Linked DNA regions of Homo sapiens: all the other regions are linked to region 5. Evidence: promoter capture Hi-C in 16 types of primary human blood cells and fetal thymus (Javierre and others, 2016). All regions are on one chromosome and are shown on one strand. The core of a region is centred on a gene start or on the middle of the fragment in contact, and the rest is flanking DNA. Distances in the headings are between cores, read along the strand shown. Region 1 overlaps PKD1L3 (polycystin 1 like 3, transient receptor potential channel interacting). Region 2 overlaps AP1G1 (adaptor related protein complex 1 subunit gamma 1). Region 3 overlaps PKD1L3 (polycystin 1 like 3, transient receptor potential channel interacting). Region 4 overlaps AP1G1 (adaptor related protein complex 1 subunit gamma 1). Region 5 holds the start of ATXN1L (ataxin 1 like). Region 6 overlaps AP1G1 (adaptor related protein complex 1 subunit gamma 1).

What was found. The method cuts DNA at HindIII sites, captures the fragments that hold promoters and counts their contacts. A CHiCAGO score of 5 or more calls a contact.
Region 1: a contact is called between a fragment that was not itself captured here and the fragment with the promoter of ATXN1L in region 5, in 1 of 17 cell types (total CD4 T cells). The highest score is 5.2, in total CD4 T cells.
Region 2: a fragment that was not itself captured here is called in contact with the fragment with the promoter of ATXN1L in region 5 in 1 of 17 cell types (activated CD4 T cells); the score reaches 6.9 in activated CD4 T cells.
Region 3: a contact is called between a fragment that was not itself captured here and the fragment with the promoter of ATXN1L in region 5, in 3 of 17 cell types (activated CD4 T cells, naive CD4 T cells and total CD4 T cells). The highest score is 6.8, in activated CD4 T cells.
Region 4: a fragment that was not itself captured here is called in contact with the fragment with the promoter of ATXN1L in region 5 in 1 of 17 cell types (total CD4 T cells); the score reaches 5.8 in total CD4 T cells.
Region 6: a contact is called between a fragment that was not itself captured here and the fragment with the promoter of ATXN1L in region 5, in 3 of 17 cell types (naive CD4 T cells, total CD4 T cells and activated CD4 T cells). The highest score is 6.1, in naive CD4 T cells.

What each region holds. Positions count from the first base shown.
Region 1 is chr16:71,948,619-71,952,698 of GRCh38, forward strand. PKD1L3 (polycystin 1 like 3, transient receptor potential channel interacting) reads right to left here. Exons shown (of 30, transcript NM_181536.2): 19 at 2,946-3,126; 20 at 1,500-1,692; 21 at 1,165-1,399. Among named protein-coding and RNA genes, the nearest start is that of PKD1L3, 50 kb to the right of the region's middle. The HindIII fragment of the contact is 924 bases long and covers 1,891-2,814 here.
Region 2 is chr16:71,730,628-71,734,570 of GRCh38, forward strand. It overlaps AP1G1 (adaptor related protein complex 1 subunit gamma 1), which reads right to left. Exons shown (of 23, transcript NM_001128.6): 23 at 1-2,532. The coding sequence ends at 2,431. Among named protein-coding and RNA genes, the nearest start is that of PHLPP2, 7.9 kb to the left of the region's middle. The HindIII fragment of the contact is 2,504 bases long and covers 3-2,506 here.
Region 3 is chr16:71,931,211-71,935,198 of GRCh38, forward strand. It overlaps PKD1L3 (polycystin 1 like 3, transient receptor potential channel interacting), which reads right to left. Exons shown (of 30, transcript NM_181536.2): 27 at 2,705-2,915; 28 at 2,210-2,311. Among named protein-coding and RNA genes, the nearest start is that of IST1, 38 kb to the left of the region's middle. The HindIII fragment of the contact is 1,428 bases long and covers 1,937-3,364 here.
Region 4 is chr16:71,765,119-71,769,368 of GRCh38, forward strand. It overlaps AP1G1 (adaptor related protein complex 1 subunit gamma 1), which reads right to left. Exons shown (of 23, transcript NM_001128.6): 7 at 371-466. Among named protein-coding and RNA genes, the nearest start is that of SNORD71, 8.8 kb to the left of the region's middle. The HindIII fragment of the contact is 7,773 bases long and covers 1-4,250 here.
Region 5 is chr16:71,844,593-71,848,388 of GRCh38, forward strand. It overlaps ATXN1L (ataxin 1 like), which reads left to right and starts at 1,384. Exons shown (of 3, transcript NM_001137675.4): 1 at 1,384-1,512; 2 at 3,418-3,479. RefSeq lists enhancers at 456-1,228, 962-1,011, 1,229-2,000, 1,802-1,871 and a silencer at 1,272-1,581. The HindIII fragment of the contact is 5,556 bases long and covers 1-1,926 here.
Region 6 is chr16:71,748,487-71,752,734 of GRCh38, forward strand. It overlaps AP1G1 (adaptor related protein complex 1 subunit gamma 1), which reads right to left. Exons shown (of 23, transcript NM_001128.6): 14 at 1,724-1,846; 15 at 1,408-1,497. Among named protein-coding and RNA genes, the nearest start is that of SNORD71, 7.9 kb to the right of the region's middle. The HindIII fragment of the contact is 3,916 bases long and covers 1-3,707 here.

The DNA.
Region 1 (4,080 bases), core at 1,103-3,602, 100 kb after region 5:
AACGAGCACTGGCTGTTCATTTCCTTGGCATTACTGTGTATTATTATTTTTCTTTGCCATTATTAAAACAAAAATGCAATATTATCATTTTATTGGACTAGTGAAACTGAATTTCTTACATGTGTTTTGGCCACTGCAATTACAGGTTTTGCTTTAAAAAATTTATATCTTAACTTACATATAGTAAAAAAAAAAAAAAAAAAAAAAGTCACTTTTTGGTGTGTAATTCCATGAGTGTTGTTTAATACTTAGAGTTGTATATCCACCACTACAGTCAAGATACCAAGTAGTTTCATCACCCCCAAAATTCCCTCAGGCTGTCCCTTTGTATTTATATTTATTTTCCATATCTAAAAGATACAGAACAGTCTGTATCTTTTAGAAATATAAAGTCTGAAGTACATGAAATGGATAAAATGATATGAAGTCTGATATTGTTCCCCCCAAATAATAGATGAAACAAATTGGCCATGAGTTGGTTATTGTTGAAGCTGGGTGGTACGACTTTAGAATGCATTGTACTAGTCTCTACACTTTTGTGTGGGTTTGACATTTTTCTTAATTAAAAACATTTTAAGTTTTTTGTTGTTTATTTTTTTCAAAGTGCTTTGGGTTGTTGATTTGTTACTGTCCTCTTCACTCCTCAATCCTTTTCTGCCATACTTCTTAGTTTTTTCTGTCATGAATTACACTTATCCCTAACAAATGTCAGTTAAATGTCAGTTTGCTTTTTTTTTTTTTTTTTTAGTTTTGAGACAGGGTCTCACTCTGTCACCTAGGCTGGAGTACAGTGGCGCAATCACGGCTTACTGCAGCCTCGACCTCCTGGGCCAAGCAATCCTCCCACCTTAGACTCCTAAGTAGCTGGAACTATAGGAGCACACCACCATGCCTGGCTAATTTTTTCTAATTTTTGTAGACATGGAGTTTCATCATGTTGCCCAGGCTGGTCTCGAACACCTGGACTCAAGCAATCTGCCTGCCTTGGCCTCCCAAATTGCTGGGATTACATGTGTGAGCCACTACACCCAGCCTGGTTTGCCTATTTGTTTTTTGTTGTTTATGTTACATTGTCAAAACCACTAGGCACCTTGGATTGACACCCAGGGACCTCAGTTCCCCTAACTTCTGCAACTCCAATGGTTCTTCCCATCCCTCACATACCTTTACTGGCTGGCTGATGAAGATGTTCTGAAGCACTGATAAAATAATTGAAATCATCCAGCTGGTGGCTTGGTCTTTGCTCAATTCCAAGCTATAAAGTGCTGTAAAAAAGGCTGAAGCCAGGCTAGTGAAACCTAAGAGGAGCCAGCAGACTGAAGTCAACCATTTGGACAGGCCATTTGAGATGGGCTTTTTTCCTTCTTCTGAGCTCAGGATGGCAAAACTGGTGACTTCCCTGAAGCACAAAAGTTGAGGGAATAATCTTGTATGCATCGGCTGAGATAGAGGATGAGGAAGATTACAGGGGATAAAGAAGGCTTGGTGTGGTGCATTACCTGGATGGCTCTTGCTCCGTGGGAAGAATATGTGTTTCCAAGAGTTCCTGGAGTTTTTGAAGTTGGCTGGCTGCATCTAGGAAGTCACAGGACTGGTGACCCTGGGTGAGACCCAGCGTGCCTAAGTGAGATTTCAGCCTCTGCAGAACTCTATGCAGGTAACAGCAGAAATGATGGTGGTTTTCAGGAACAACTGAAAATATATTTCAAGTTGACACTTTCACAAGTGGATTTCAATAAGAAGCAATTAGTGGTAGAGATTAACAATTCATTGATGGATGATGAGGCTATATTTTCCCACTACTAGCAGAGATTGGACCGTACCCCACATTTGCAGTACTACCATCTTCTCTAAGGATGCTGGTGAATTTTTAACAATTGTAAAATTCTAAGCTTTGATCTAAAGACTTTTAAAACCTTATTGAGTTCTTCACCAGAATGGCAGTACATGTGACCTATACTAGTAAGTGCCCAGGAGACTCAAACAGTATTTGAGAATCCATAAATTCCATAATCTCATCATCTCATAAAAGAAAAAGGATGACAAGTTTCAACAGCCTTTGACAAAGCAGAAAGGATATGTGGGTATAATACAGAAAACTTTTTTTTGTATTTCTCTCTTTTTTTTTTTTTTGAGATGGAGTCTTGGTCTGTCGTCCAGGCTGAGTGTAGTGGCACGATCTTGGCTCACTGAAACCTCTGCCTCCCGGGTTCAAGTGATCCTCCTGCCTCAGCCTCTCTAGTAGCTAAGATTACAGGCATCTGCCACCATGACCAGCTAATTTTTTTTTTTTTTTGTATTTTTAGTAGAGACAGGGTTTTGTCACATTGGCCAGGCTGGTTTTGAACTTCTGACCTCAGGTGATCTGCATGCCTTGGCCTCCCAAAATGCTGGGATTACAGGCGTGAGCCACCCTGCCCGACCTGTGTTTTTTTCTTTTTTCAAGACAGAGCCTATGTTGCCCAAGCTGGAGTGTAGTGGCGCGATCTCAGCTCACTGCAACCTCTGCCTCCTGAGTTCAAGCAATTCTCCTGCCTCAGCCTCCCCCGTAGCTGGGATTACAGGCGCCCGCCACTACACCTGGCTAATTTTTGTATTTTTAGTAGAGACAGGGTTTCGCCATGTTGGCTAGGCTGGCCCTGATCTCCTGACCTCAGGTAATCTGCCCACCTCGGCCTCTCAAAGTGCCGGGATTACAGGCGTGACCCACATCTGGCTTGTGTTTTTTTCTTAATCCTGTACTTTGTTTCACCAGATAGAGAAAGATTGTCTACAAGTCATCAAGGAGAACAAAGCTATCAACTCTATACTAGAAGCTTAAGGAAATTAAAACAACCAGAAGGTTGTATCAGGCCTGTCGGTTATGAATGAGTAAGAAAGTAAGACATATGCAAGGGAGTGGGAGGCAGATGGAAGATTCGTTACTGAAATCTACTGAAGTTTACCACGTGCCCAGTGGCGCTCTCCCTGCTGATGACAGCCTTGACCCTCCAAGTGAGATGATACGAGGCTGGATAAAAGTTTCACCAGCTTAGTAATGTCCCAAGAACTCCATGGCGGCTGCTCACACTTGGAGAGTAGGTATGTATTTCTCCTGAGCAGGAATCTCACAGTTTCCTTTAATTCCTGAATGTAGGACCAGATGAGAAAAATCAGCCTGTTTTTCATTAACCCAGGATTTGTACCAATTACAGGTGGTAAGGCCGTTCCCTTTCGTCAGAAGGGGATATGCTTAGCACAAAGAACCTCAATTTTTCATGTTCCTCTAATTTTTCAGAAAGCAGTCACCTCACAGCTCATGGTAGCTGCAATACCAGTTTTATGAGACAATACAGAATGAAAAAAGAGACAATTTGATCAAACATCAAAGACTAAAGCAAGGCCAGAGTGGTACCATGCACTCCCATTTAGTTCTCAGAATACTTAATCATCAAGAGTAAAAGCTAAGCATGTGGTTGATCACGGCTCAGGGCACAGGAATTGGGAAAAATATATTACAGGTAACAGGACCCTGACAGCCTCCCATGAGATTCTTCCCACTGCTCTCTTCCACTGCGTGGGGAAAGGGAGCATGTCATTTTTTTTTTTTTTTTTTTTTTTTTTTTTTGAGACGGAGTCTTGCTCTGTCTCTGTTGCCAGGCTGGAGTGCAGGGGCGCAATCTTGGCTCACTGCAACCTCCGCCTCCTGGGTTCAAGTGATTCTCCTGGCTCAGCTTCCTGAGTAGCTGGGACTACAGATGCATGCCATCACGCCTGGCTAATTATTATTTTTTTGTCTTTTTAGTAGAGACGGGGTTTCACCATGTTAGCCAGGATGGTCTCGATCTCCTGACCTCGTGATCCGCCTGCCTCGGCCTCCCAAAGTGCTGAGATTACAGGCGTGAGCCACCGTGCCCAGCTGGGAGCACGTAATTTATCTGTAAAATTTGATACTGGCTGGGCACGGTGGCTTACGCCTGAAATCCCAGCACTTTGGGAGGCCAAGGTGGGAGGATGGCTTGAGCCCAAGGGTTTGAGACCAGCCTGGGTAACATGGTGAAACCCTGTCTCTACAAAAAAATACAAAAATTAGCCAGACAT
Region 2 (3,943 bases), core at 5-2,504, 110 kb before region 5:
GAAGCTTTCAAAGATCCAATCATTTGAAACAGTCTTCACAACCATCAGTATCCTAGGCAGTTATTTGGCTGCTAGTCCTTCAGTATGGTGCTTGTGTTCTGATTCCAAAATCAATTCATATTCTACGCAGCACCCTTTGTGTTAAGGCCATGATATTTTACTCCTTCTAGACAAAGCTATGAATGATCATAAACTCTACCTCGAAACTATGATCACCCAAGGAAATGCTCTGTCAGCAGAGTAGACCCTTCCCAGCTCCATTAGCTGACAGTGTCTTATAGCATGGTCTTGAACAGATTTCTTCAGAGATTCAACCCAGTTCAAATAAAAAAACCTGAGCTGGTTAGCTACAAATATAAGAGAGAAAATAAAGCCTCTACACAAAGAGGAATGTTAAGACAAATTCTATTCAAGAAATCCACCAACATTATGTTAATCCTATCATGTTTCACAGCATTAAGTATCCATCCAATGAAATCAGTCTGCAAAGAAACCCTTAAAGGCTATTTTTCATTGCACAGGCAGAGCAGTTGTCTGAAATATGCACTAGTCCACACTTACATTACTGAAAACTATGCAGGAGATATTATCCTGTTCTTGACTCAGTCAACCATTTACCCAGTGGAGTAAGTTTTAGCAGATCTTGCTCATACACACTAGTAAGACCAGAAACTTTCCCGTGGAGCCTTTAGTTCAACTCCAGTTTGTCAAATGTTAGGAATATTCCAGCATCTGATACAGAGCTAGATTTGACAAGACACTGAAGATTTTAAGTAAAGGCTTGGTGAAATGAAGGGGAAAAAAAGGGATATTTGTTTCCAGGTTTAAGATTGAAGCCATAGTAGTCATTATACTGTATTCAATACAGTAACAATTGCAAACATTGTAAGAGCAAGGTGGGCCTCACTTTTTCTTTCTTCAGTATATAAGACATGGCGCCTGAATACTTGAACATACATAGTACATTCAATGTGTACCACAGAGAGAGTCACCTCTACTTCATTCCAGCAACTCAATTTCAAAGTTTGATAACATATGGGTCCTTTCTAAAAAGCACTTGGCACTCTCACTAGTTTAAAAAGCTCAAGTCTTTGATGTGAATATTCATGAGATTCGTCTTTTAAAAGAGACCAATTTCTCAGACTGAGGAAAGGCTATTCCTACCCTATGGTGTCCGTAAGACCTCCTCTGACATAGGGGTATGGAAGCTACAAGGCTTCACTCCAACACCATAAAGTACAATATGGAAAGATTTCTTTAACCGTGTGGTCTTTATTTCAGTGCCAGTGTTACAGATACAACACAAATGTTCCAGTTAGAAGGAATTCAAACGGAATGCCAAGGTCCAAGCCAGGCTCAAGAAATAAAAAGGGAGGTTTGGAGTAATAGATAAGATGACTCCAATACTCACTCTTCCTAAGGGCAAAGGTACTTTTGATACAGAGTCTGATCTTTGAAACTGGTGAACTCCTCTTCCACCCATTACCATAGTTCAAACAGGCAAGTTATGGGCTTAGGAGCACTTTAAAATTTGTGGTGGGAATAGGGTCATTAATAACTATGAATATATCTTTTAGAAGGTGACCATTTTGCACTTTAAAGGGAATCAATTTTGAAAATCATGGAGACTATTCATGACTACAGCTAAAGAATGGCGAGAAAGGGGAGCTGGAAGAGCCTTGGAAGTTTCTATTACAAATAGAGCACCATATCCTTCATGCCAAATCTCAACAAAAGCTCTTTTTAACTCCATCTGTCCAGTGTTTACAAATAAACTCGCAAGGTCTGACCAGTTCTTGGTAACAAACATACATGTGTGTGTCTGTGTGTATACAGCAATGCACAGAAAAGGCTACCAGGAGCCTAATGCCTCTTTCAAACATTGGGGGAACCAGTAGAAAAAGGCAGGGCTCCCTAATGTCCATTATTACATTTCCATTCCGAATGCCAGATGTTAAAAGTGCCTGAAGATGGTAACCCAGCTAGTGAGGAATAAATACCCCACCTTGCCCAGTCCACAGAGAAACAACAGTAGAAAGAAGGGGCAACTCTTTGCTGCAGAGACAAAGTGAGTGTTTTTTCGCCATGGATTGCAGTCCTCTCCTCCAGACCAGCTGCTTATTTCCTCAGGGGCCCAGGGAATGTTGATTCTGGCTGTAAATGTGGGAGGGGTGGAGAAGTGCGGAAAAAGGAGAAGAGGAAGAGTGCAAAGTAGCCTCCAGAAGCAGCCAGCCTCAACAGTGGAGGAGAGGACATTAGTCTTTAACAATGCTTCAAGGTCAGCAGTAACTTTAGGAAAATCCTCCTCAGCAGTTCTCTTCAGCTCCTCATGCCCGTGGTACAGTTGGGGGGGACTTGCCAGCAATCACAACCTCCTTCCCAGAGTTCCTTTGATTGAGTGGGATAAAGAATGAGAATGGTGCCAAACCCTCATTGCCAGGACTGAGGGGGAAAGTTGTTCACCTCTGCTAGATCTTGCATTGCTGAGCCCTTGTGATTATATGTAAGCTTGATCCGCATTCGCAGCTGTTGCTATAAGAGGAAAAGAGAAGTGCAAATTATATACTGAAATGAAATCTCCAGAATCTGTCCGGTCCACAAATAGACTTTTAATCTTAGAGGTCAAAACTTAAAGCAAAGCTGTCTGTTAAGAATGACAGGTAAACAACAACAAAAAACACCCAGTACTCTAGGCTTGAGCCAAGAAGCTAACAATGTCATGCCACCAAGTTGAGAAAGCGCATCTGCAGAATACACGGTTAGCTTTAATCCTTGAACTGCATTAAAAGGACAGAACTCCTTGGGAGCATTTTTTCTTTTCTTTTCTTTTGAAACAGGGTTTTGTTCTTATTGCCCAGGCTGGAGTGCAGTGGCACAATCTTGGCTCACCGCCACACCAGACTAATATTTTTATTTTTAGTAGAGACGGGGTTTCACCATGTTGGCCAGGCTGGTCTTCAACTCCTGACCTCAGATAATACACCCACCTCAGCCTCCTAAAATGCTGGCATTACAGGCGTGAGCCACCATGGAGCATTCTCCTAGTAACATTTTGCTGAGTCCTTTTCAAAAAGATTCAAACCTTGTATCCAAGTCTCTTAAAAAATGAGGTGAACATATACTCATCGTACGCTCTCCATTCAGATACACTGTTGCTTTATCTGAAAAACCTACAGTAAATGTGAACATGACCTTTTGTTCCTAAAGCATAAAATTTTAAAAAATGACTTAACTCACAGGTAACAGCAGTAGTTTTAAGAGAACTCAATTAGACACTTTTTGTATGGCAGATTTCAAATACAAATGCACTAAGACATTTTTTACTCTCTGTATCAGATGGTCAAAGGAGTTTGTGCTTGTACTATAGAGGCCGATGCTCAAAATATAGTGAATAGCAGAGGAAAGGCAAGTGTTACAAGAGAAAGAAAGTATACTGTTACTTATGAGCAACTAGTAGAGCTCTATTAAAGAAATTCTCTGAACCATTTTCAAAAACTGAAAACCAACTGATTACTATTAAGGTGAGCTTATTTCTTTGAGAAGAGATAATAAAAATATTGCTTAATTTCAGTTTCTAAAGCTATTTTTCATTTGGCTGCTTCATTTAAAATGCCTCTATTTTTCTATTCATACTTAATAACTGTAGCAGTAAATGTAGGTATTTGGTTTCAACAAATGCTCTTACCTCAGATTTCAACTTGTGTATAAATTAAAATGTCTAAGCTTCTCCCCTACCCCCAAAAACCAGACCTTTAATCTAGCTTTTTTTGAAGTTGCATTTTAATAAGATGCCACTAAGCCACCTGATGTCTCTGGGTTCCATTTGTTATTTACAAAAGAGCAAGGAAGTTAGACCAGGCATTTTCATTGATCTCTTCTCTAACTATGAGTCAGAAAAACCTAAAGAAACAAAGCAGAATTTTATTTCGGGAAATATGCTTAC
Region 3 (3,988 bases), core at 1,401-3,900, 88 kb after region 5:
GATTACTTCCTTCACAGCTTTAGGATACGAAGTGCTGCAGTGGCAAAGGCTCATCCCCTAGTTATTGGAGCTAGAACCACAACAGAACACAGCCTAGTCAGCCAAAACAGCAGTTACAGTTGTCCCTTAGTATCTGAGAGAGATTGGCGCCAGGGCCCCCACAGGTACCAAAATCTGAGGATGCTTAAGTCCCTTATTTTTATTTTTTAATTGCAAGCTTCCCTAAAGGTTAAGAAAGTGTCTTCTCCCCCACTTTTTTTTTTTTTTTTTTTTTTTGAAATGGTCTTGCTCTCACCCCGGCTGGAGTGCAGTGGCGTGATCTTGGCTCACTGCAACCTCCACCTCCCAGGTTCAAGCGATTCTCCTCAGTCAGTCTCCTGAGTGGCTGGGATTACAGGTTCCCACCACCATGCCTGGCTAATTTTTGTATTTTAGTAGAGACGGGATTTTACCATGTTGGCCAGGCTGGTCTTGAACTCCTGACCTCAAGTGATCAGCCCCACCTTGGCCTTCTAGAGTGCTGGGATTACAGGCGTGAGCTACTGTGCCCGGCTCAAAGTCCCTTTTTAAAAATGGCACAGTATTTGCATAAACCCTATATACATCTCTCTTATACTTGAAATAAACTTTAGATTACCTCTAGTACTTTATAGTGGAACTGCTACGTAAAATAGTTGTTACACCGGTTTGTGGTTTTTTGTGGGAGACAGTCTCGCTCAGAGGGCAGTGGGATGATCATAGCTCATTGCATCCTCACTCCTGAGCTCAAGCAATCTTTTCACTTTGGCCTCCTAAGTAACAGGAACTACAGGTACATGCTACCATGCCTGACTCTTCTACTGTATTTTAAAATGTGTGTTATATTTTATTGTTACCTTTCAAATATTTTCATTCTGGGATTGGTTGAATCTGTGGATGCAGACCCTGCAGATACAACATTAGAAACTGAACCTACCCATTTTAATTAGTAATTTTGGAATTCTAGATCATTAGAATGATCAACCATGATCAAAATCTTGCCAGTTTCACTGCTTAAATGGCAGGTTTTTCCTTGCTTGGTCATATCTACCCTTTACATACCAGGGTTTGGAGCCCAGTGCCTCATTTGGGTTTCCTACTTTATATGTTGAGGAGGAAGGCAGGGATTTCTGTTGGTAGTTCCTGGGAGGAAATAATAGGCTCTCTGAAGTGAGTAGTTATTAACTCAACAGAAATAACGCAGTTTCTCTTAGAACTGTACCTTCCTAATTCTTTGTCACTTCCATTATGTCACTTTTTTTTTTGAGACAGTTTCACTGTCTTGCCCAGGCTGGAGTGCAGTGGCACAATCTCAGCTCACTGCAACCTCCGCCTGCCAGGTTAAGGCAATTCTCCTGCATCAACCTCCTGAGGAGCTGGGATTACAGGTGTGCACCACCACGCCTGGCTAGGCTAATTTTTGTGTTTTTATTAGAGATGGGGTTTCACCATGTTGGCCAGGCTGGTCTTGAACTCCTGACCTCAAAAGTGATCCGCTGGCTTCGGCTTCCCAAAGTATTAGGATTATAGGCATGAGCCACCGCACCTGGCCTTTTTTTTTTTTTTTTTTTTTTTTTAATTTAAATAGACATAGGGTCTGGAGTGTAGTGGCATGATCATGGCTTATTGCAGCTTCCAACTCCTGGGCTCACAGGATTCTCTCTCCTCAGCCTCCAGCCTCCTGAGTGGCTAGGACTACAGGTGCATGCCACCACACCTGGCTAATTTTTATTTTTTATTTTTAGTAGAGACAAAGTCTCTATGTTGCCCAGGCTGGTCTCAAATTCTTGGCCTCAAGCAGTCCTCCCCTTCTTGGCCTCTCATGGCTTGAACCAACTTACCCTACCCTGTTAATGCACTTTCAAGGGGCCATTGAGAAGCAGAGAATCTTGTTAATCTGGCCAAGCACAAGAGCACAAGCTTCGGCTCAGTGTCCTTTGCCAATAAGATTAAGGACACAAGAAGTGAGGAAGGAGGGACTGAGTGCTTAGGAAAGGGCAGGTTTCTGAAAGCAACAGCCATGTAAATGCTGTATGCATAGGCAGTACCATAAAGCAGTAGAGCAAAGGACTGAAATTTTCCCCCTTTTCCAGTGTGCAGTGTACAGTAGGGGGCTGTTTTCATAAGGACCCCCCCAATTTTCCTTGTTCAATATATTGAATTCTGTGAGGAAACAAATTATTATTTTTACCTCCTCTTGGTGAGAAATTCCCATCAGGAGACCAACAACAGTCACTGCTGAGCTGAAAAATGTCCGGTAGTCAGAGATGCTGCATCCAAACAGCAGGTTAAACTGAACAGAAGGAGAAAGGCCAGTTAGTGCAAGCCGAGCGCACATCTTTCTATCCTGAGGTGCTTGGGGATGTGGCCAACATAGAAGCAATGGAACAGAAATTCCTTGTGGCCAAATTATGCCCAAAGAATACATAAACTTCCTTTGTAATAACATAGTGTTTTCATAGAAGTTTATTTGACCTTTATATTACCGTGTGAGCTAAGTTTTATCCCCATTTTAGAGAAAAATATGTGGGTTTAAGTCATACCAGTTAAGTGTGGAACTAGATCTAAACCCGGCTTTCCTACTGTACCACCTCGGGTTTCTGTGTTGTGACCATTTCTATGGGAAGCGATGCGATTCCAAGACCACAGCACACGGAGAAGGAGAGACAGCAACGTGGGGGCTTACGGCAATGGCATAGCCTGTCAGCAGGATTAGGATGATCAGCAGAAAGCCCACCACCTCGTCCCAGGCTCGGCTCAGTGTCCTGCTGATGACCCGCAGCCTGGGGCTATGACGCAGCAGGTTCCATAACTGAACAGTTGCCAGGAGAACCGGGAAGCCCACAAGGTGAGTCGCAGCAGAGTTCACTTTTACTGCCTCATAGAAGCTGATGAATCTGCACCAAGGAAAGCTGACAGTTACTCAGCAAGAAGTATGTGCCTATACTGCAGTTTCCCCAGCGCCCCTGCTGCTGATCGTGGCAGCCCTGAGTCCTGTGAGGTCAAATGCTTGTTGATGTGAGAACTGCTTTCTATTGTGGCCTCCTGTGAGTTGTGGATATGGGAGTAACAGAAGGCCACATACTATTCAAGTGATCTACCTGCTGCAGATTGCACTGGGAGCTGTGCCGAAGAAGCCTTAAAATGTGACCTCTAGCTGATTTCTTTATTCCAAATTCATCCTGGGAAGCAAAACCAGCCTCCTGCACTGCTCTGAGCCAAATCTCTCCTCTCAAAAGGAGATTAACTCAGCCCAGAGAGAGGAGCCATGCTGCTGGTCTGTTTTCTGTGGCACACTAATCCTGTGTTCTCTGGCAGTACAGGATTGCTGTAATAGGTGCAATCAAGCTTAGAACAAAATGATGGGTGGTAGACTAGAGGCGAGGGGTGTTGCTTAGCAATTAGGTTTTGTTTTGAGAGAGAGACATTCATAATTTTAGGTTGCAGCAACCAGGTTACTTGGAAGGAGCCCCACAGACACTAGCAAGTGGCACTCTGCACAGATCCGCTGTCACTGCATAAACTGCTCTCCATAAGGCCTACTTGAAACAATGCCTCAGGAAAAGTTACACAGATCACCACCCAGGCTGTTGGCCACTGATGCAAAGGTTAGCAAAGCACCACTTGGCAACACTTGGCATGGGAAACATAGATGTTCCTCTCCATGGGAAAAACCAGAGAAGGTGCCCAAAGAGGCACCAAAAATCTCTTAGTATGGATGAGTGAATAGATGAACATCCCTACCCAGAAAGCAGCTCCCTTTGCATTTAAAGGATGGGACTATGTGTTGTGGTTTTATTTAAAGGATTATTTGTCGTGCGTTAGGCTTTATGCCTTCGCCAGAGGGCAAAATAATGACCAATTCCAGGCCCTTCTGAAATTTAAATGCATTATCCTTAAGCACATACCTAAGCACTAATGAAGGCAGAAGAGCTCTTCAATGTGACTAGCAGTTAAATGGCTTCTAGTT
Region 4 (4,250 bases), core at 195-2,694, 79 kb before region 5:
CTACTTGAGTCCAGGAGTTTGAGACCAGCCTAGGCAACATGGCAAAACCCTGTCTCTACAAAATATACAAAATGAGCCGGGCATGGTGGCATGCACCTGAAATCCCAGCTACTTGGGAAGATCACTTGACCCTGGGAGGTCGAGGCTGCAGTGAGGCAAGATTGTGCCACTGCACTCCAGCCTAAGTGACAGAGCAAGACCTGTAATTGTATCCTCTTAATCTAATATAGAATTGTGTCACTATTCATTAATATAATTAATCAATTAACTACCAAATTTCTACTCAACACAAACTTAAGAGGAAGGAAATTGTCTACTTAAAGATATTAAATTCATATAACATTTATTTAAAACGTTCTTTCAACCTCACCTGCAAAAAGGGGTCACTGATACCAGAAACATCATGTTCTGGTGAATATCCGGACATGATGAGGTTCTTTAAAATACGAACTAATTGGGGCACAAGCTGCAGAGAAGAAAGATGCATCAAAAAACAGTGAATATTGAAGAATGTCTCATGAATAAGCAGGTCCTTTGGTTTAGAAAAAGGGTGTAAGGGTCCCAGTCCAAGCAAATTCTACTGATTTAATATACTAGTGTATTGTAGATGTTTGATAAACTTAGGAGTAACTTAGGGCAATATTCAAGAAGTAGTATGTATTTTATCTGGATAAAACCAAACCAGACTTTTTTATGCAAGAGTTATATGTAAAGATATTACAAATAATATTGGGTCAGAAAGCCTATGGGAACCAGGTAAAACAGATGCCTATGGGGCATACCGCATTTCTAGTTCTGTAGAACTTGAAAAGCCTAGGTGGCAAAAACATGTTCAGTTTTCACCCATTCAAACATTTGCATGTAACATGTCATCATGCCAAAATACAACTAGTGATCTTATTAAAATTATAGCTTTAAAACATACAACCTCAAATAGAGAAAAAAATCTCTTCTCTTAAGATAGAAGAGTTATACCCTTTTCCAACAAACAACAGGGAATACCAAAGCTGACAATAGTAATACGGTAATCAAATGGAAGACACATGAAAAAATTACATCTTTCATCTTAAGAGACATCAAGGCCATGAATAATTTCCTCTTCCTATTCTTAACTCCTATGATACAATTTTTTTAAATTTCAGGACTTATTTATATATATGGCTTTATGGCCTGTTTTCTTGTCTTTTCAATGAGACTATACATTCCTTATAATCAGGAATTTCCTTCCTATCCTTCCTTTACTTTATCCATTAAGAGTCCTAACACATAGTAAAGGCAATTTTACTGCCAAGCCGAAGATGTTTTAAATATTGGCACTCATTTCATTTCTGTTGATCAATTACTTGATATTAAAACAAAAGGTTTGCCACAATAGGAACTTTTTATGTTTCCAACTAAAAACTCAATTTTTAGCTATATAAACAACTCTAATGACCAAAAATTAAGTTAAATAGTGTGCAAAGTGAATTGCATTCCATCTCTTTTGCAGGCAATTTTAGCTACAACTCTGCTGCAACTCAGTTATTTTTTCTCACTATATTTAGACTCTGTCCCTTCCCTACTCCCCAAGCCTAAAAGGGGATCAAGATTGAAATGAAAAGCCAAGCTATATCCAAGGCATGCACTCAAAGCATTCAAAACATTAAGGCCACTTATAAACACAAGAAAACACAGTATGTAAGAATTTAAATAAGTTGAGCCATAACAGTTTGGAATTAAGTAACTTATAAGTCACCTAAACAAAAGTCTACTTTGGACAACTCCAAATAAGACAAATCTAAGCCATGGAGATCTGTAAATTCATTAAATCTGTCAACTATGGGCAAAGTTATATTAGAGATAATAATATACCTTTTAAAACCACTTTAAATCAATATTTTTGTAATAAAATGAAGACCAAGTAGTTACCAACCTTATCTTACATACTTCCCAATGGTCTGTTTTTTTTGTACTAGATATAACCCTAGTTATTTTTTATCTGGTTTATTTCTTGGAAAAGTCATTTTTCCTTGGGCTACTAAATTCAGAAATTGTTTTATCCACTGCCAAAAAGGCCAGCACATCACATAACATTACCCTGGGACACAGAGCACAAATGACTAAATGTTCAGCATACAATTCTTGGAACCCAGTTTCATTTTTCAGACAAAAATGCAAGTTATTAAAACTGATGACAAGACAAACAAAATAAGATGACACAGGGAAAGGCTGCAGCCATGAAAATCAGTTGGTGCCCACTACTCTACCTCAAAATCCTTTTAATATTCCAAAACTTCTATGTAAGATTAAGTACAGGTAAGAGAGAAATAAAATCTCTAAGTGTGAACTGAAAGCTCAGCAGTACATACGGAGCTTTTTAAAGTATGAGGTTACCCACATGCGGTTCTAAAATATCTACTTCAAAAAGCAGCAGCATTTTGTGTCAAAGCTCCAGACTAATCTGGAATTGCCATCACCAAAGCCACTGGGAAACTGCTCAAAGTTTCTCAAGTAAAGATAAAGAAAAGGCAGAGAAGAAGGCTTACAACTCAGGAAAGGCTGCAACTGAAATCCAAGGCTGACTTTGGAGTCAGGAGTTTAAGTGACAAAACAAAAACTAGACTAGGAAGTTAGCCAAAGATGGTAGAACAATAACTCACAGTATTAAGCACAGCTTCAGCATTAGTATATTTTAAAAGCCACATTTGTGGATCGATACACAAAAGCTACTAAGGACCTAATGCCAGCATGCACCATCTAAAAGAGGGTTAATTCTTACCTTTTCATTCTAACATACAGCAGGATTCCAAACAGACAACAGGAACAAAACATACAAAGCAAGCATTAGGGACAGATACGGGTCTCATACTATATTACAATAATTTAATCAAGACATGAACATCTAAGGGAAAAAAAGCCAAAAAAGAACTCCTGTTAGAGCCTTACTAGATCTAAAGTACAAAGTGAGTTCTATTTATGGAATGACCAGCATCCTATAAAAGAAGTTCAATGCATGTAACTACCCAAAGAACAGTCTTCTTCTGAGTCTAAAATTAAGTGGAGAAACAGAAATGTCCAGTTTAAAATACTAGTTTAAAAAAAAAAAAAAAAAAAAAAAGGCCGGGCGCGGTAGCTCACGCCTGTAATCCCAGCACTTGAGGAGGCTGAGGCGGGTGGATCACCTGAGGTCAAGAGTTCGAACCAGCCTGGCTAACATGGTGAAACCCCATCTCTACTAAAAATACAAAACAAAATTAGCCGGGCATGGTGGCAGGCGCCTGTAGTCCCAGCTACTCAGGAGGCTGAGGGAGGAGAATCACTTGAACCCAGGAGGTGGAGGTTGCAGTGAGCCAAGATTGCACCACTGCACCTCAGCCTGGGCGACAGAGCCAGACTCCGCCACAAAAAAAAAAAAAGAGAGAAGGGAGTACTTAAGAGAACTAAGACTTCCATCACAGGAGTCAATGTCCTAAAACGAACAGTAGAGTAAAAGTAATAAAAAAATTTTTAGTTTTAACCTTAAAAAAATAGAAAAGAGCTGGGCGCGGTGGCTCACGCCTGTAATCACAGCACTTTGGGAGGCTGAGGCGGGTGGATCACGAGGTCAGGAGATCAAGACCATCCTGGCTAACACAGTGAAACCCTGACTCTACTAAAAATACAAAAAATTAGCCAGGCGTGGTGCCAGGCACCTGCAGTCCCAGCTACTTGGGAGGCTGAGGCAGCAGGAGAATGGCATGAACCCGGGAGGCGGAACTTGCAGCGAGCCAAGATCGCGCCACTGCACTCCAGCATGGGCGACAGAGCAAGACTCTGTCTCAAAAAAAAAAAAAAAAAAAAAAAGAAAAGAAAAGAAATTCCTGCCTTTAAAAAAAAAATACAAAAAAAAAAAAAAAAAAAACAGGCCAGGAGCAGTGGCTCACACCTGTAATCCCAGCACTTTGGGAGGCTGAGGCGGGCTGATCACCTGAGGTCAGGAGTTCAAGACCAGCTTGGCCAACATGGTGAAACCCCGACTCTCCTAAAAATACAAAAATTAGATGGGCATGGTGGCGCGCACCTGTAATCCCAGCTACAAGGAAGGCTGAGGCAGGAGAATCACTTGAACCCAGGAGGAGGAGGTTGCAGTGAGCTGAGATCACGCCATTGCACTCCAGCCTGGGCAAAAAGAGCAAAACTACATCTCAAAAAAAAAAACAACACACACAAAACTCCTATTTCTAATTTGACCTCAGATCATGTTTCTTGACTCAAATGTGAAAACAGTAGAT
Region 5 (3,796 bases), core at 134-2,633:
TCGGCTCACTGCAAGCTCTGCCTCCCGGGTTCATGCCATTCTCCTGCTTCAGCCTCCCGAGTAGCTGGGAGTACAGGTGCCCGCCACCATGCCCGGCTAATTTTCTGTATTTTTAGTAGAGACGGGGTTTCGCCGTGTTAGCCAGGATGGTCTGCGATCTCCTGACCTCGTGATCCGCCGGCCTTGGCCTCCCAAAGTGCTGGGATTGCAGGCGTGAGCCACCGCGCCTGGCCCAATTGTTATTTATTGAACAGAGTTTGAAGAAACTGAAAGTCTCCATTTCGGTGGCCAAAACCGCAATTACTTTTGCACCAACCTAATACTTTAAAACAAACAACAACAAAAACACAGTTGTTATTCAAACATAAATTCAACTGGCGCTCACTTTTGTCTTCACTTAAGTTAATCAGATGTTCATGTTACTATGAAGTTGACCAGTTAATTTGTAATGAATAATTAGTTAATTTGTAATGAATAATATTTCACTGAGTAGTCAAGCCCTCTTTCCACTAAACCAAGCTGCTTCTCACTGTACTAAACCCCGGGCTCTCTCTAAACTTTCAGGTGTTCCACTCCTTGTCACCTTCCCCTAGATCCTGAGTGGGGTTCACTCTTAGCTCCCTCGGGGGCCACTTCTCAACACTTACAGAGCTCCTATTGACCTGGCACGGTGGCTCACGCCTGTAATCCCAGCACTTTGGCAGGCCGAGGTGTGGGGATCACCTGAGGTCGGGAGTTCGAGACCAGCCTGACCAGCAAGGAGAAACCCTGTCTCTACTAAAAATACAAAAAATTAGCCAGGTGTGGTGGCGCATGCCTGTAATCCCAGCTACTCGGGAGGCTGAGATAGGAGAATTGCTTGAACCTGGCAGGCGGAGGTTGGGTGAGCCGAGATCGTGCCATTGCACTCTAGCCTGGGCAACAAGAGCGAAACTGTCTCCAAAAAAAAGAAAGAAAAGAAAAAAAGAAGACTTCCTATCTCCACCTGGGTCCCCAAGAGGTAAGAGGTATCTCCTTTTCTCCTGAGCCTAGGTCACCTCGGGGTCCCCCGAAGTTCCCCAGAAGGGGCTGCACAAGTCAGGACAAGAAGTCCAGGAAATGGGGGGTCGCCGATGACCACGCCCCGGGGCTCTGTTTGGGAACCCCCAAAATTTACTGAGGTGGAAAGATTGCGGGGTCATTGTGGGGTCAGGCTGAGGGGGCCGGGCCCAGCCCTATTCACGTGACCCGGTCCCAGGGAGAGGAGTTTGTTCACCCACCAGAGGGAACGCCCGACGCGAAGGCAGTGTGGCACCCTCCCTTCCCGGGGAGTCCTGGGCGTTGCTCTCCCACCCCGGCCGTGACGCAATCTCTCCGCGCCGGGGGCGGGACGAGCTTGACGCCATCTCCGGGCGCCCGGCTGTGGGGGGCGCTGGGTGTGGGGCGGCTCCGGGGCCGGGGATGGCGGCGGCCGCGGTTGCGGCGGCTCCGGGACGAGTGAGTGGATCCTGGGAAGCGCTGTGAAATGGGCTGGTGAGTGTCCCTGGAAGTGGTGGCCGCCGGGGCCAGGCAGGCCTGGGGTCGGTGCTCCGGAGGAAGTGGCCCTCAGGAGCCCGTTGCTCCGGCGGGCCGGGGCCCATGAACCGTGGACAGACGGAGGGGAGAGGCCGCACCTAGACCCCCTCGCGCTTCTCTCTGGCCTGTCCTGGAAGGTGGCCTCAGGCCCCGGCGCCCCGGAGGCTGTGTGCCTGCGAGCCAAGGTGTCCGAGTCTGTGGGGCGGGAAGGGCCCCCAAACAAGGAAGCGTCGCCTGCAGGGCCTCGCCCCTGCCCCCTTGGTGAAGGGTGGACCCCCTACTCTCTAAACGCAGAATTCCCAATTTCGAGCCCTACCCTTGTTGGATCAAGGATTGCGGGACCACTGGGAGCCATAACCGTAGTCTCTGACAAGCTTCTCCCTTTCTGTCGGGCGCACCTCTCGCCCGCAGAGAATTTGGGTCTCCAGCTGGGTTCAGCCCCTTGATTCCGACCCAAGCGTGATGAGGAGCTTGGTTCCGGGCTCTGCTAGCAGCGTTGGCAACTCTCCTGAACAGCCTGTTAGCTCGGTTGGGGTCACAAGCTGCGTTTTCCCTTTGAGATGCTCAGTGAGGTTCTCGAGAGGCGGAGGTTTCGGATTCTTAAGTGTGTTTTGCGTTGTGGGAACCTGGCGCACAGGCTTGGCTCTTTGTTTTCCTTTCTGCAGACCTTTTGCCTCTTTCGGTCCCTTTACTAGCCTGTGTTTGCTAACTTCTCGGTGACCTGGAGGCAGGTTTTCTTTAAAGTTTTCGTTACAGAAAGCAAGGATCATTTTGGGATTGAAGTGTGACCCCAGTTTCTGTTGGGAATGAAGAAGAAAGCAAGCTGCTTTTCAGTTATTAAAGCTGCTGGTGGAGAAAAGAGTCATTATTTATGCCACTGTGTAATAATATGTGTTTGTGGAATTAGGAATTTGTTTTCCCACTGTGTTTTCCTATCCTTCCACCTTTTGTGTACACCTGCACCTTGCCAATCTTAAGAGAGAAATGTTGCATTCGGTTTGGGTTGAGGCTTAGAGTGTTCTATAGGACTTGGACAGGATAGTCAGTTTCTCAGAGCACTCACTCATCTGTACTGCCTTCTCTGTTTTCAGAGGTTAAGGCTCCATTCTTTCTCGCTTTGCGTTTCTGGCAAGTGTAGATTCACATAGTGATGGTTTAGTGGTAGTTTTGTTTCACCAGTGTTAGCCAGCTGAGGACCAAGGCAATATTTTCAGTTTCTTTCATACCTGATTCAGCACTTGGTATACTGTCACTCAGAAAATTTTACATACACACACACATATGCTCATTTTTTTTTAACCCTGAAAATCTCTTAATAAGTCTTCTCCTTGAGTGACTCCCCCCTGACCTCTTTTTCTGCCCCAGAAACATAAATAATTGTTCTTTTTCATCTACTGCTGCTTTTTTTCATTTAAATAACTCCACATTTATGTTTTCATAGGCCCAGAATAAAGGGGAAATCCATAGAGTTGATTTTTCCTGCTTCCCATTGTTCATATGGGAACAGTGTTAAAGCTTCCATTTTTATTTGTGCGTTTATCTGAAATTTGGATTGGAGCAAATTTAACCTTTGGGGAACAGGCACAGGTAGATGTTAGGGAAATGATGTTACGGAAAACCAATGAAATTTGATACATGGAAATTTTTTTTCAGGGATGTCTTCTTACAAGTTGGAGCATTAGAGGTGTTTTTCTCTCTGTTCAACTGCCTGGGCACTCTGGGTAAATGTACTGTTTACCTGTGGAGAAGAAGATGAGGCAAGGACGTGTATACTCTAATGCTTTGGAATTACCTTTCATGGTGACCCTGGGGAGAATTAGAGGTCAGGCAGCCGCTTACTCCATTCCTGTTTCTATCTTCTAGGCTCCCGAGCCAGCCGGGAGGACACTTACTACAGCTGCTCAGAAGCACCACTGGAAACTCAGGTAATACCGGCACTTTGAATTCCTTGTTTCAGGAAAATATCTGGGATGTCACAGTGGAAAAACAGAACAGAATGTAATATAGAAAGCTCTTTTCAGATCCAAAGAACTGGAACCTGGTTGGAAGAAATAGGCAGCAAAGTTCATGTGCACTGAAGTGTTCAGACCAAAAAGTTGCTTTATAACAATGGACAAAAGCATTTGTGAAAGGTGACAATAAGAGAAAAGGGAAAGAGAACTTTCTTATGAATCATACAGATACGGGGAAAAAAACAGGCATGTTTAGAGGAATGGAACCAGAATTTCATGGAGTGGTGCCT
Region 6 (4,248 bases), core at 500-2,999, 96 kb before region 5:
CAAAAGCCTCTAACTCAACCTGTGCTTTGCCAGGGTAACTGTCCAAGCTGTTCTATCAACCAGAGTAGTTGGGGGTAAAAAAAAGTGCTCTGGTTCTATCAACCAGAGCAGGTGGGGGTAAAAAGAGTGAAAAATGACCACTGGGGCTGAGAGGCAATATTAGAGCTTCAAGTGGCAGAAACAGAAGAAGAAAAGAAAAACATACAGAGTTCAAGTGTTGTTGCCACAATTTTCCCTTTTAAAGCCAGTCCTTTAATGTGCAAATAAGAACATGGATACATGTCTCATTTCTTCTTGTTTACCAGCCAGAGGGTAAGAGAAACAGTAATTCAGTCCACTAGGACAGAGACTTGGGCCTAAAGTGGTTTTAAAATCTCACAATGGGGCCAGGCAAAGTGGCTCACACCTGTTTTGTTTTTTTTTTGTTTTTTTTGTTTTGAGACGGAGTCTGGCTCTGTCACCCAGGCTGGAATGCAGTGGCGCAATCTTGGCTCACTGCAAGCTCCACCTCCCGGGTTCACGCCATTCTCCTGCCTCAGCCTCCCGAGTAGCTGGGACTACAGGTGCCTGCCACCACGCCCGGCCAATTTTTTCTACTTTTTAGTAGAGATAGGGTTTCACTGTGTTAGCCAGGATGGTCTGGCTAACCACCCTGCAGGTGACCTCATGATCCACCCGCCTTGGCCTCCCAAAGTGCTGGGATTACAGGCATGAGCCACCACACTCAGCAATGCCTGTTAATCCCAACACTTTGAGAGGCCAAGGCAGGCAGATTGCTTGAGTCCAGAAGTTCAAGACCAGCCTGGGCAACACGGTGAAACCCTGTCTCTACAAAAAAAAAGTAGAATAAACTAGCCAGGGTGGTGCCTGCCTATAGTCCCAGCTACTCAGGAGGCTGAGGTGGGAAGATCGCTTGAAACCCAGGAGATCAAGGCTGCAGTGAATTGTGATCCCACCATGGCACTCCAGCTTGGGTGACAGAGTGAGACTCTATTAAAAAAAAAAAAACAAAAAACCTCACAATGGCTCAATAAGTTCCATCTCAAAAAATGGCAGGTTTTCCAATATAATTCGCGTTTGCTTCTTTAAAAAGTTGGGTATTTTTTAAATTTTTTTGAGACAGGGTCTCACTCCTGAGTAGCTGGGACTAGACACCATCATACCTGTCTAATATTTGTGTCTTTTGTAGAGACAGAGTTTCACCATGTTGCCCAGGCTGGTCTCAAACTCCTGGGCTCAAGCGATGCTCCCATCTCAGCCTCCCAAAGCGCTGGGATTATAGGCATGAGCCACCACGCCTGGCCTAAAAAGTTTTCAAGGAATCAACCTCAACTCCCCATTAAACACTACTCTCCTATAACCAAAACCACTATTTTCCCCCACTTAACCAAGAGTGACAAGGAGTACCTGAATAGGCTCTTCCTCTTCACACTGGCCAGATACAAGAAGATCACCATATTCACCTATACACCATGCAGCCACTTGTACCAAAGGTTGCTGTGAAAAGAAAAGTCAACGTTTCTCAAGAACTTCAATTTTTCCAAAGTTATTTAATGCAAATCATAGGTCATCTCATAATAAAGATCAAAACTGTGCATATCTAGAGTGTTAGAAATAAAGACATACCAAAGGGGAGAGAGGAGGGGGGAAAAAAAAGAAGAAAAACATACCAGAAAAATTGAGGGTAAAATTACCCCCTAAAATAGTTGAATGAAGTACTTACTTGAGAATAATCACCAAGAATTGCTTTGTACAGGCGCTGGACAGTATAGGCATGCATCTCCACACTATTAGTTATTAACTGGATTAAATTGGGGACTGCATCATCACGAACATAACTTCCTGCCTAAAAGGAAATGCAGACAATTACCCCTAGAAACACACAGAAATGATGATAACAAGTGTTAGCTATTATTATTACTGTGTGTTTTTTCCTTTCTTTTTTTGAGACAGAGTCTCGCTCTGTCACCCAGGCTGGAGTGCGATAGCGCGATCTTGGCTCACTGCAACCTCCACCTCCCAGGTTCAAGCGATTCTCATGCCTCAGCCTCCCAAGTAGCTGGGACTACAGGTACATGCCACCACACCTGGCTAATTTTTTCTATTTTTAGTAGAGATGGGGTTTCACCATGTTGGTCAGGGTGGTCTCGAACTCCTGACCTCAGATGATCCACCTGCCTCGGCCTCTCAAAGTGCTGGGATTACAGGCGTGTGCCACTGCGCCCAGCCATTACTATTGTTTTTAAAAGAAGAATACCAGAAAACACCCTCAAAGATAAATTTGGTTCCAATTCTCAGGTTCATAACAGCTCAAACTTCAAAGTCTTATTTAAATATGTTACATTTTTAAATTTTATTTTATTTTTAAAAATTTTCTCTTTGTCCAAAGGCCGGGTGTGGTGGCTCACGCCTGTAATCCCAGCACTTTGGGAGGCCAAGGCGGGTGGATCACAAGGTCAGGAGATCGAGACCATCCTGGCTAACACGATGAAACCCCGTCTCTACTAAAAATACAAAAAATTAGCCGGGCATGTGGTGGGTGCTTGTAGTCCCAGCTACTCAGGAGGCTGAGACAGCAGAATGGCGTGAACCCAGGAGGCCGAGCTTGCAGTGAGCCGAGTTTGCGCCACTGCACTCCAGCCTGAGCAACAGACTGAGACTCCGTCTCAAAAAAAAAAAAAAAAAAATTTCTCTTTGTCCAAATTAAAAAAGGAAGGCTGGACACAGTGGCTCACACCTGTAATCGCAGCACTTTGGATGGCTGAAGCAAGATGACTGCTTGAGGCCAGGAGTTTGACACAAGCCTGGGCCACACAGCAAGACTCCATCACTACCAACAATAATAATAATAATAATAATAATGTAAAGGTTTAAAACTTTATCACCCAACCTTGGTCAATCTCCCATTCCTAAATAGAACAATAGATTTAATTTGTAAGACTGAGACCAGTCCTAACCATGTGTATTTTGGAAAGGAAAAAAAAGAAAAAAAAAAAAAAACAGCCAGGTGATCAGGGTTTTATCAGGTCACTCCTGTTAAGAAACACAAAGACAGAGGAAGAATTCTGGGAAAATGATCAGAAGGAAAGGTGAGAAGCTAAAAAGCAGGTAATTTGCAGTATAGTTTATTTACATCCTTCCGTAAAGCAGAGTGCATTAAATACAAGAAAGCATCAGGGTGATCTAATGGGTTTGTATAATAAGACTACTTCATTCAACAGCAGCAGAATACACATTTTTCTTAAACTTACACTGAACCAAGAAAGACCATATTCTGGGTCATAAAAAATATCTTAACAAATTTCAAATAACATAAATCATAGACAGTATGCTCTTAGACCACACAGAATTAAACTAGAAATCTGCAACACAAAGACAGGTGCAAAAAAATCCCAAAATATTTGGAGATTAAAAGAACATACTTCTAAATAACACATGGGTCAAAAACAACATTATAAGAGAAAACTATAAGCCAATCTCTCTCATGAATACACATATAAAAATACTCAACAAGATATTAGCAAATCAAACCCAACAAAGTTATAAAAAGAATAATATACCCTGACCACGTATTCCAGGTATGTAAGGCTGGTTAGGCATTCAAATATCAATGTAACCCAGCATGTAACAGGCTAAAGAAAACAAATCACATGATCATAAGAGAACACAAGTCAGTTAGAAAAATAAAATCAGGGGCACAAAAAAAAAGCTTTTGAATTCTCATAAACACTTTCCTTCAGGAGTGTTAATTTCTCCCTTCTTTTGAGCCTCATGAAAACTAGGAAAACATGTCCTGTTCATCATTATGTTAATTACATTTTGTTAGATTATAATTTTTCCCCTTGCTAATCAAATTTATTAACTTTTAACCTTTTACCAAGTTAATTCATTGTAAGTAAACTAAAAAACGAGTATGCCCCAGAGAGAATTCCACAGCAACAAATACATATACATATAAGTCATAATTTCATAAGTCAACAAATACATATAAGTCATAATTTCAATGATATAATTTTCTCCCTACAGATGTTTCATAATTTACTTAATCCCCATTTGGGGACTACTAGTTGTTTCCGGTTTTCTCCTACTATAAACAATATTAGGATGAATACTTTTACATACACATTTTTGTGTACTTGTCCTATTATTTTTTCAGGCTAAAGTCCTAAAAATTGAATTAATGAATCAAAGGGTACAATTTAAGGCTTTTCCTACATGCTACCAAACTGCATAGTAAAAAGATGGCAT